Regions from separate parts of the Homo sapiens genome. Here all the other regions are linked to region 3. Evidence: promoter capture Hi-C in human tissues and cell types (Jung and others, 2019). All regions are on one chromosome and are shown on one strand. The core of a region is centred on a gene start or on the middle of the fragment in contact, and the rest is flanking DNA. Distances in the headings are between cores, read along the strand shown. Region 1 holds the start of PGPEP1 (pyroglutamyl-peptidase I). Region 2 has its middle 7.1 kb from the start of MPV17L2. Region 3 holds the start of RPL18A (ribosomal protein L18a).

Region 1 (2,866 bases), core at 335-2,834, 480 kb after region 3:
CCTGGGGAGGGGGCCGGAGGCAGTGGTTCACGCCTGTAATCCCAGCACTTTGGGAGCTGAAAAGGGTGGATCACCTGAAGTCAGGAGTTCGAGACCAGCCTGGCCAACATGGTGAACCTCCCTCTCTACTAAAAATACAAAATTAGCTGGGTATGGCGGCACTCGCCTGTAATCCCAGCTACTTGGGAGGCTGAGGTGGGAGAATTGCTTGAACCCGGGAGGCAGAGGTTGCAGTGAGCCAAGATCACACCACTGCACTCCAGCCTGGGTGACAAGAGTGAAACTACGTCTCAAATAAATAAATACATATATAATTTCTGCTTAATAATACCTGGGGGACTAAATAATCTGTACAACAAACCCCATGACACGAGTTTATCTATATAACAAACCTGCACATGTACCCCAAAACTTAAAAGCTAAAAAAAATTAAAAATGATTTCTGGCCAGGTGTGCTGGTTTACACCTGTAATCCCAGCACTTTTGGGAGGCCAAGGTGTGCGGATTGCTTGAGCTCGGGAGTTCGAGACCAGCCTGTGCAACACTATGAAACCCCCATCTCTACAAAAATACAAAAATTAGCTGGGTGTGGTGCCACACACCTGTAGTCCCAGCTACTCAGGAGGCTGAGATGTGAGGATCAGTTGAGCCCTGGAGGTCAAAGTTACAGAGCTATGATTTTGCCACTGCACTCCAGCCTGGGTAACAGAGTGAGACCCTGTCTCCAAAAAAAAGAGAGAGAAAGGAAATTATTTCTGAGCTTTATTGCTATGAAGAGGATGGAACCAGGGAATGAGATGGAACCACTGGGGGGTAGCAGTGAGGTCATTTCAGCCAAGGAGGGCCAGAAGGAACCCTCAGAGGAGGTAATAGGATAGCAGGGAGGTGATAGCCAGAGAAGGCCACAAGGAGAAAGTGACAGTTCACCCCTCGGAGGAGGTGACAGCCAGGACAGGAGGAGGGCCCCTGGGAGGAGGCGACATTGGAACACTGGAGCTGAGGCCTGAAGGAGGCCAGCTTCGCAGGTACCTGCGGGGTGTGTTCCGGCAGAGGGAACAGCAGGTACAATCGCCCTCCCCCATTAGCCTCCTAGGACCATGGGGGCCTGCAGAGAAACTTCTGGCACCACACAAATATGGTTGTCGTGTTTTTCCTTTTTTACTCTGTCCTCCCCCACCCCCGCCAACTTCCTGGCCTGAATGCTGCTCCTGTGACCCCTTGAGGCGAGTGACCTCGGGGAAGTGGCATTCTGTGCCTCAGTTTCCTTATCTGGAAAACGGGCCTTGCTCGCGGGGACTTCCCTCCCTAATTCTGCGCAGTATGCATGCATAGGGCAGGCCCTCAATGAACCCTTGCAGAATAAAGGACCGGCTCATCCCCAGCACCTGGCTCAGTGCGTGCAAGCGGCTACACACTACGGCATAAGATGTTCCCATTTTGCAGACGGGGAAACGGAGGCTGGGGAATACCGGGCCTAGCCGACGGGGGCGGGGCGCAGGGCGCGCACGCTGCGTCTCGGGCCCGGGGGCGCGCACGCCGAGCGGCTGACCGGGGGCGAGGCCGGGGGCTTGACAGGGGCGTGGCCTCGCGCGGCCGAGAGGCTGCAGCGGCAGCAGCTGTCGCGCCAGTCGCAACAGAAGCAGGTCCGAGGCACAGCCCGATCCCGCCATGGAGCAGCCGAGGAAGGCGGTGGTAGTGACGGGTACGCTGGCTGATGGGGGCTGTAGCGGCAGCGGCCGGGGGCAGAGGCGGGGGCGGCTCCGGGACTGCGGGGCCGAGAGGGGCAGGTGCTGGAAGTCCTCTCAGATTTGGAAGGTGTCATCACCCGCGGGAGCCCCGCGCAGCCCAGGCTTCCTGGAAAGTGGAGGAGGAGGAGCCTTGGGGGTCCCAGGGTCGGGAGTCAGGGCAGTCGGGCGCGGGGCTTGGGGGGCCGGGCAAAAGCCCGGCGCTGCGCAGGCCCCCCTGGCGTCCTTTCCTCCCAAGGTGGGGATGGTGACCCTCCTGGCACCTGCCTCCTCTGTCTGGCCTGCGGGCTGGACTGGACCCTTCCTCCCTGCCCCTTCCGAGGTCCAGCCTGTCCCCACACCGCTCCCCCAACCCCTGGCCCCAGGGGACAAAGGCCGATTTGCGGGCAGGAAGTGTCCCAGTGACAAATGAACCTCCCAGTCACTGCTCGCCGCGCCCTGCGCTCCTGGGGGGCTACTCTCCCAAGGCAGGGGCAGGTGGGGGTCCGGGGACCTCGGGCTCTCCCAGCTGTCCCAGGGACTGTCTTCAGCGGAAACCTTTTTGTGTTTTGTGCCAGGGCTGTTTGTTGGTGAGTCAGGGCCCCTGCTGTCACCGACTCCCCCCCACCCCCAAACCAACTGTTTCTCCTCCCTGAGACTCCGCCTCGGGGCCACGTGGGGCGCCAACTTCCGCTGGGGCCTCAGAGTCAAGGAGTGGGGGGGTCATTTTGACCTGCTGTCTGGAGGGGTCAGAGTGGGAAATCCAGCAAAGGTGCACACAGGTGTTTTGTGGCTGTTGAAGGGAGATTGAGGCTGATCCAGGAGATTCAGGGAAGAAGGAAGAAACAAGGCACCTGCTTAACAGGTGTGTATAATTGGGAGGAGGGTCACTGCCCCCATCCCTTCCAGCCTTCCTTTATCTGGTTATTTATTCCAGCACTTTTTGCATGAGCTGATTACATCTTTACTGTCTCCATTTTGCAGAAAGGGAAACTGAGGCTCACAGAGGTCATCCAGTTTGTAAGGGGCTGAGCTGAGACTCAAACTTTGGCTGTACAGAAGGATAGAGTTAGGAGGTCCCCTCCTGAGCCACAGCCCCTACCTGCTATCCCAGGCTACAGCATCTCTGCATAGCATTCATA
Region 2 (2,856 bases), core at 262-2,761, 330 kb after region 3:
AAGTATCCAAGGGTGACCTGGTGGTGTTATACAGCACCTTTTTTTTTTTCCCTGAAAGAGTCTTGCTCTGTTGCCCAGCCTGGAATGCAGTGATGTGATCACAGCTCACTGCAGTCTCCAAATCCTGGGCTCTAGAATCCCCTTTGCCTCAAACTTCTGAGTAGCTGGGACTACAGGCATGCACCACCTATCCGAGCTAATTTTTTAAATTTTTGTGGAGATGGGGTCTTGCTATGTTCCCCAGGCTGGTCTCAAACTCCTGAGCTCAAGTGATCCTCCTGCTTCAGCCTCCCAAAGTGCTGGGATCACAGGTGTGAGCCATAATCCCAGCCTGATAAGAATTCGTCCTTTTCTTTTTTTTTTTTGAGACGGAGTCTGGCTCTGTTGCCCAGGCTGGAGTGCAGTGGTACTTTCTCGGCTCACTGCAACCTCCATTTCCCGGGTTCAAGCGGTTCTTCTGCCTCAGCCTCCCGATTAGCTGGGATTACAGGTGCCTGCCACTACGCCTGGATAATTTTTTTGTATTTTTAGTAGAGACGGGGTTTCACCATGTTGGCCAGGCTGGTCTTGAACTCCTGACCTCAGGTGATCCACCCACCTCGGCCTCCCAAAGTGCTGGGATTACTGGTGTGAGTCACCGTGCCAGCCTTTTTTTTTTTTTTTTTTTTTTTCTGAGACAAAGTCTCACTCTGTTGCCCAGGCTGGAATTCAGTGGTGCTATCTCAGCTCACTGAAACCCCAGCTTCCCAGGTTTCAGTGATTCTCCTGCCTCAGACTCCCGAGTAACTGGGACTACAGGCACACACCACCACACTCAGCTAATTTTGCTATTTTTTGGTAGAGATGGGGTTTCACCGTGTTGGCCAGACTGGTCTTGATCTCCTGACCTCAAGTAATCCACCCACCTCAGCCTCTCAAAAAGCTGGGATTACAGGCATGAGCCACCGCGTCCGGCTGAATTCTTACTTTGCATTGGCTTGTCAGGTCCCAGCATTTCTCCCCTGCAGACCCCAGAGGGAGCAGATATTCCCAGCCAATTGTAGCCCATCCTCATCACCAGAAACTAGCAGGGCTAGAGCTTTCCTCCTCTCTCTGGTGTCTGGCTCAGACTGACAGACAGATTAACAAAACAATAGCACACAAAGCTTATTCATTGTAGATGGGAGCCCTCACGAGAAAAATGGAGACCGAAAAAAGTAACTAGACCTAAGTGTTTGTTTTGAGACAGGGTCTTGCTGTGTCATCCAGACTGGAGTGCAGTAGCGGGATCACAGCTCACTGAAGCCTTGACCTCTCAGGCCCAAGCAATCCTCCTGTCTCAGCCTCCCAAGTAGTTGGGACTAGAGTTGCACACCACCACACCTGGCTAATTTTTTAAAAATTTTGGCCGGGCACGGTAGCTCATGCCTGTAATCCCAGTACTTTGTGAGGCAGAGGCTGGGGGATCACCTGAGGTCAGGAGTTCAAGACCAGCCTGGCCAACATGATAAAACCCGTCTCTAGTAAAAATACAAAAATTAGCCAGGCGTGGTGGCGGGCGCCCATAATCCTAGCTACTTGGGAGGCTGAGGCAGGAGAATCACTTGAACCTGGGTGGCGGAGGTTGCAGTGAGCTGAGATCGCGCCACTGCACTCCAGCCTGGGCAACAGAGTGAGACTCCTTCTCAAAAATAAAGAAAAAATAAAAAGATAGATCACAGAGCCCTTCTGGGCTGGCTGCGGTGGTTCGTGCCTGTAATCCTAGAATTTTGGGAGGCTGAGATGGGCAGATAACTGAGGTCAGGGGATCAAGACCAGCCAGACCAACATGGCAAAACCCCGTCTCTACTAGACATACAAAAATTAGCCGGCCATGGTGGTACATGCCTGTAATCCCAGATACTTGGAAGGCTGAGATAAGAGAATCACTTGAACCCGGGAGGTGGAGGTTGCAGTGAGCCAAGATCATGCCACTGCACTCCAGACTGGGCAACAGAGTGAGACTCCCTCTCAAAAAAATAAAAAGAAGAGCCCTTCTTGCATCCACTGTTTGCAAGTGTGTTTAACTCAAAATTCTCAATATCAATATGCCAAAGTTGTATGCTGGTATGTTATGGGTGACATGTCCTGAACACTATCAACAGAAACATACAAAAATTACTGCCAGGTATCAAAAGCTGCTCTTCCTGGGAAGCAATAAAGTATCTTTTGTTTTTCTGTTTTTGAGACAGAGCCTGGCTCTGTCGCCCAGGCTGGAGTGCAATGACAAGATCTCGGCTCACTGCAACCTTTGCCTCCCGGGTTCAAGTGATTCTCCCGCCTCAGCCTCCCATGTAGCTGGGATTACAGGCACCCGCCATCATGCCTGGCTGATTTTTGTATTTTTAGTAGAGACGGGGTTTCACTATGTTGGCCAGGCTGGTCTTGAACTCCCGACATCAGGTGATCCGCCTGCCTCGGCCTCCCAAAGTGATGGAATTACAGCCATGACCCACCGCACCCAGCCCCATAAATTCTCTTAATTTTATTTTTTATTTTACTTTTTGAGGCAGGGTCTCGCTGTGTCATCCAGGCCAGAGTGTAGTGTCACCATCTCAGCCAGCTGAAGACTCAGCCTCTGGGACTCAAGCGATCCTCCCACGTCAGCCTCTCAAGTAGCTGGGACTACAGGTGTGCACTACCGTACCCGGATAATTTTGTTATCCGGTCTTACCATGTTACCTGGTCTTACCATGTTGCCCAGGCATCTGGGCAACTCCAACTCCTGACCTCAAGCGATCCTCCTGCATCCAGGTCCCAAATGGTAGGATTACAGGCATAAGCCACCGAGCCCGGCCAAGCAACAATTTTTTTTTTTTTTTTTGAGACAAAATCTCG
Region 3 (2,971 bases), core at 419-2,918:
ATTGGGCCGGGCGCGGTGGCTTACGCCTGTAATCCCAACACTTTGGGAGGTGGAGGCAGGCGGATTACCTGAGGTCAGGAGTTCGAGACCAGCCTAACCAACATGGTAAAACCCTGTGTCTACTAAAAATACAAAAATTACCTGGGCATCGTGGCGGGCGCCTGTAATCCCAGCTACTCTGGAGGCTGAGGCGGGAGAATTGCTTGAACCCAGGAGGCAGAGGTTGCAGTGAGCCGAGATAGCGCCACTGCACTCTGGCCTGGGGAAAAGAGTAAGACTCAGTCTCAAAAAATAAAAGAAAAAGAAAAGAAAAGAAAATCACACCCAGTAGTGACTTGAATCCACAAAACCAGATTAAGAGAACCAGAAATGCAAAATAAGAAAATGAAAATAAAAAATTGCATGCTTGCTGTCCTTTATTTTCTTTCTTTCTTTCTTTCTTTTTTTTCTGAGTCGGAGTCTCGCCCTGTCTCCCAGGCTGGAGTGCAATGGCCAGATCTCGGCTTACTACAACCTCCATCTCCCAGGTTCAAGCGATTCTTCTGCCTTAGCCTCCCGAGTAGCTGGGATTACAGGCGCCCGCCACCACGCCCGGCTAATTTTTGTATTTTTAGTAGAGACGGGGTTTCGCCATGTTGGCCAGGCTGGTCTCGAACTCCTGACCTCAAGTGATCCACCCGCCTCGGCCTCCCAAAGTGCTGGGATGACAGGCGTGAGCCACCGCGCCTGGTCTTTTTTTTTTTTTTTTTTTTTTGAGACAGAGTCTCACTCTGTCGCCCAGGCTGGAGTACAGTGGCGCAATCTCGGGTCACTGCAACCTCTGGCTCCTGGGTTCAAACGATTCTCATGCCTCAGCCTCCTGCCTCTTTCCTCTTAATTTTACTTCATAGCCTTGTCATCAGGGAGTTGTTTGCGGGTGTTTCTTTTTTCATATCTGGTCCCCGTCCTCATCCCCAGGAGGGCTTCTTTCTGCCCAAGCAAACTGCTAAGTCCAAGCCCCTCAAAGTGGGCGGCTGGATCTTGATCCATTCTCCGGCTCTCCGCGCGCTCTCCCCCAACCCCTGCTCCCTCAGGTTCTTATGAACTGGAGGCAGACAGACAGAGTTTGAATCCCAGCTACTACGAAACACAAATCGGACCCCAAATTAACAAAAACAGCATTCCAGAGCTTATTCAATATTCGTGCTGCAACATCGCTAGGAGAAAAATATATTATTTGTATTCCCATTTTACAGATACCCTCAGGTATCTGGTGGAGACCTCCGTAACACACCTCCCCGGAGGATGAGGCCCCGAGTGTGAAGCATCGGGATCTCACGGTAAACACCGCAGCCACCCGAGGTAGCTTAGGTTCAATGCTTAGGCATCCTGCAGGCGGCGCGCGCCGCCGCCCCTAGTTGCAGCCGGGACTGGCGGAGTGCCTACAACTCCCGACGTGCCGCGCGCGCAGACGCTCCGTTGCGGTCGTGGTGGAACAGGTGGAGCTTGCCTCGTTGCCTTCTGGGAAACGAAGTCTCGCTGAAGAGAGGCGGAACTTTGAGTAGCAGGTGGATCCATAGCCAATGAAGACGCGGGTCGCTTTGAGTGCGGGGCAGAGAAGCCAATGGACGTGCGGCATTGAGAGGGCGGGTCTTCCGGTAGTGAAGGCCTGGTGAACGGCTGCGCGACAGAGGACACTTCCTTTTGCGGGTGGCGGCGAACGCGGAGAGCACGCCATGAAGGCCTCGGGCACGGTAAGGCGGGCGCGGCGCGGCAGGGGGCCAAGGGATGGGGCACGGGCCCCATCAGGGGCCTGCATAAGTGGCGTGGGCCGGGTTGGTGCCGCGCGCTTCTGTTTGGGCCCCCCTTGGCCGCGCGCCGCCTTCTCTTGTTGCACCCAACATGGCGGCCATCGTGGGAGCCGCGTGGAGAGAGCGATGCGTGACCTGGGCCAGCTCAGGGATCGCGGGGGCCCAAGGACTCCGGGTCTTCTTCCCGGGGGAAGGAATAAGTCGCGCAGCATAGAGGCCCTAGCCCCGGCACCTCGTCGAGCCGCCAAGTTTCTGTTTTCCTTTCTGCAACGTGGACGTGGCGGTAGAGCAATAGTGTGTTTTCTTTCTGCCGGAATGGCTGTGAGAAGCAGATGAAAATTGCTAACAGTGAGCCGAAACGGGGAGCGTGAGGCTTAACGCTGTGGTACATACTGGATAGAATCAAACGGCTCTATGGCGCAGAGATAGGAGAACCTGGACTCCCATGGAGTGGGTGTATTATGTCCAGATCTCCAGCTTCGGTTTCCTTGCTGTCAAAGGGGCGGGCCCCATTGTTCCCTTCCTGAACGTGTGCCGAGGCCGGTGGGTCAGGTTCACAGTAAAAGTAGGAACTGCGATAATTTGTGACTATTTTTCATTGATAACTAGTGAAAAGCTGGCGAGTCAGTTTCAGAGGTGGTTTCTTTGTGCCATATCACAGAGCCTGGACTTGACCAAAGATTCTCACCTCTGCATCTGTAAACCGGGAGTCTTCCCTGGGCCAAACGTTTGGATTGCAGTTGGGAAAACGGAGGCAGCCGCAGCTCGCGTGGCAACAGTGCAGGGATCCCAGGGCTGGGGAGAGACCTGAGGTCTTGTCCTAGTTCTGCCTGGAATGGGCTGTGAGATCCCATGCTGGTCACTGGGCCTCAGGGTGAAAGAAGATGTTGGCTGGATGTTTTGAGGTGCAGAGTGGCTGTTTGACGGCGACTGCAAAGCAATTCAGGACTGCAGCATGAAGAAAGGAGGCTGTGGGTCTAAGCCACAGCTTTCCTGGTCTGAAACCCTTAGCCCAGGCAAAGGAGAGGCAGGCAACTCAATTAATCCTCCCTGGAGACCTCCCTCTCCTCAGTTCATTTTGTGTATAAAGTTGTGGTCGGGAGTGTGACCTACAGTCACCAAGAATCCACATGGAGGCCCTAGGGTGGCCCTGCCTCCTGCTTCCCGAATCTGTGGTCACT

What was found. The method cuts DNA at HindIII sites, captures the fragments that hold promoters and counts their contacts. A contact is called where the count stands out against the background at its distance.
Region 1: a contact is called between the fragment with the promoter of PGPEP1 here and the fragment with the promoter of RPL18A in region 3, in 2 of the 25 tissues and cell types used here (lymphoblastoid cells and spleen).
Region 2: a fragment that was not itself captured here is called in contact with the fragment with the promoter of RPL18A in region 3 in 1 of the 25 tissues and cell types used here (spleen).

What each region holds. Positions count from the first base shown.
Region 1 is chr19:18,339,014-18,341,879 of GRCh38, forward strand. It overlaps PGPEP1 (pyroglutamyl-peptidase I), which reads left to right and starts at 1,585. Exons shown (of 5, transcript NM_017712.4): 1 at 1,585-1,702. The coding sequence starts at 1,669. RefSeq lists a silencer at 1,434-1,623 and an enhancer at 1,455-2,142. The HindIII fragment of the contact is 61,917 bases long and covers 1-2,866 here.
Region 2 is chr19:18,184,669-18,187,524 of GRCh38, forward strand. No RefSeq gene overlaps it. Among named protein-coding and RNA genes, the nearest start is that of MPV17L2, 7.1 kb to the right of the region's middle. The HindIII fragment of the contact is 5,661 bases long and covers 1-2,856 here.
Region 3 is chr19:17,858,242-17,861,212 of GRCh38, forward strand. It overlaps RPL18A (ribosomal protein L18a), which reads left to right and starts at 1,669. Exons shown (of 5, transcript NM_000980.4): 1 at 1,669-1,733. The coding sequence starts at 1,716. RefSeq lists enhancers at 1,217-1,952, 1,285-1,664. The HindIII fragment of the contact is 5,224 bases long and covers 1-1,766 here.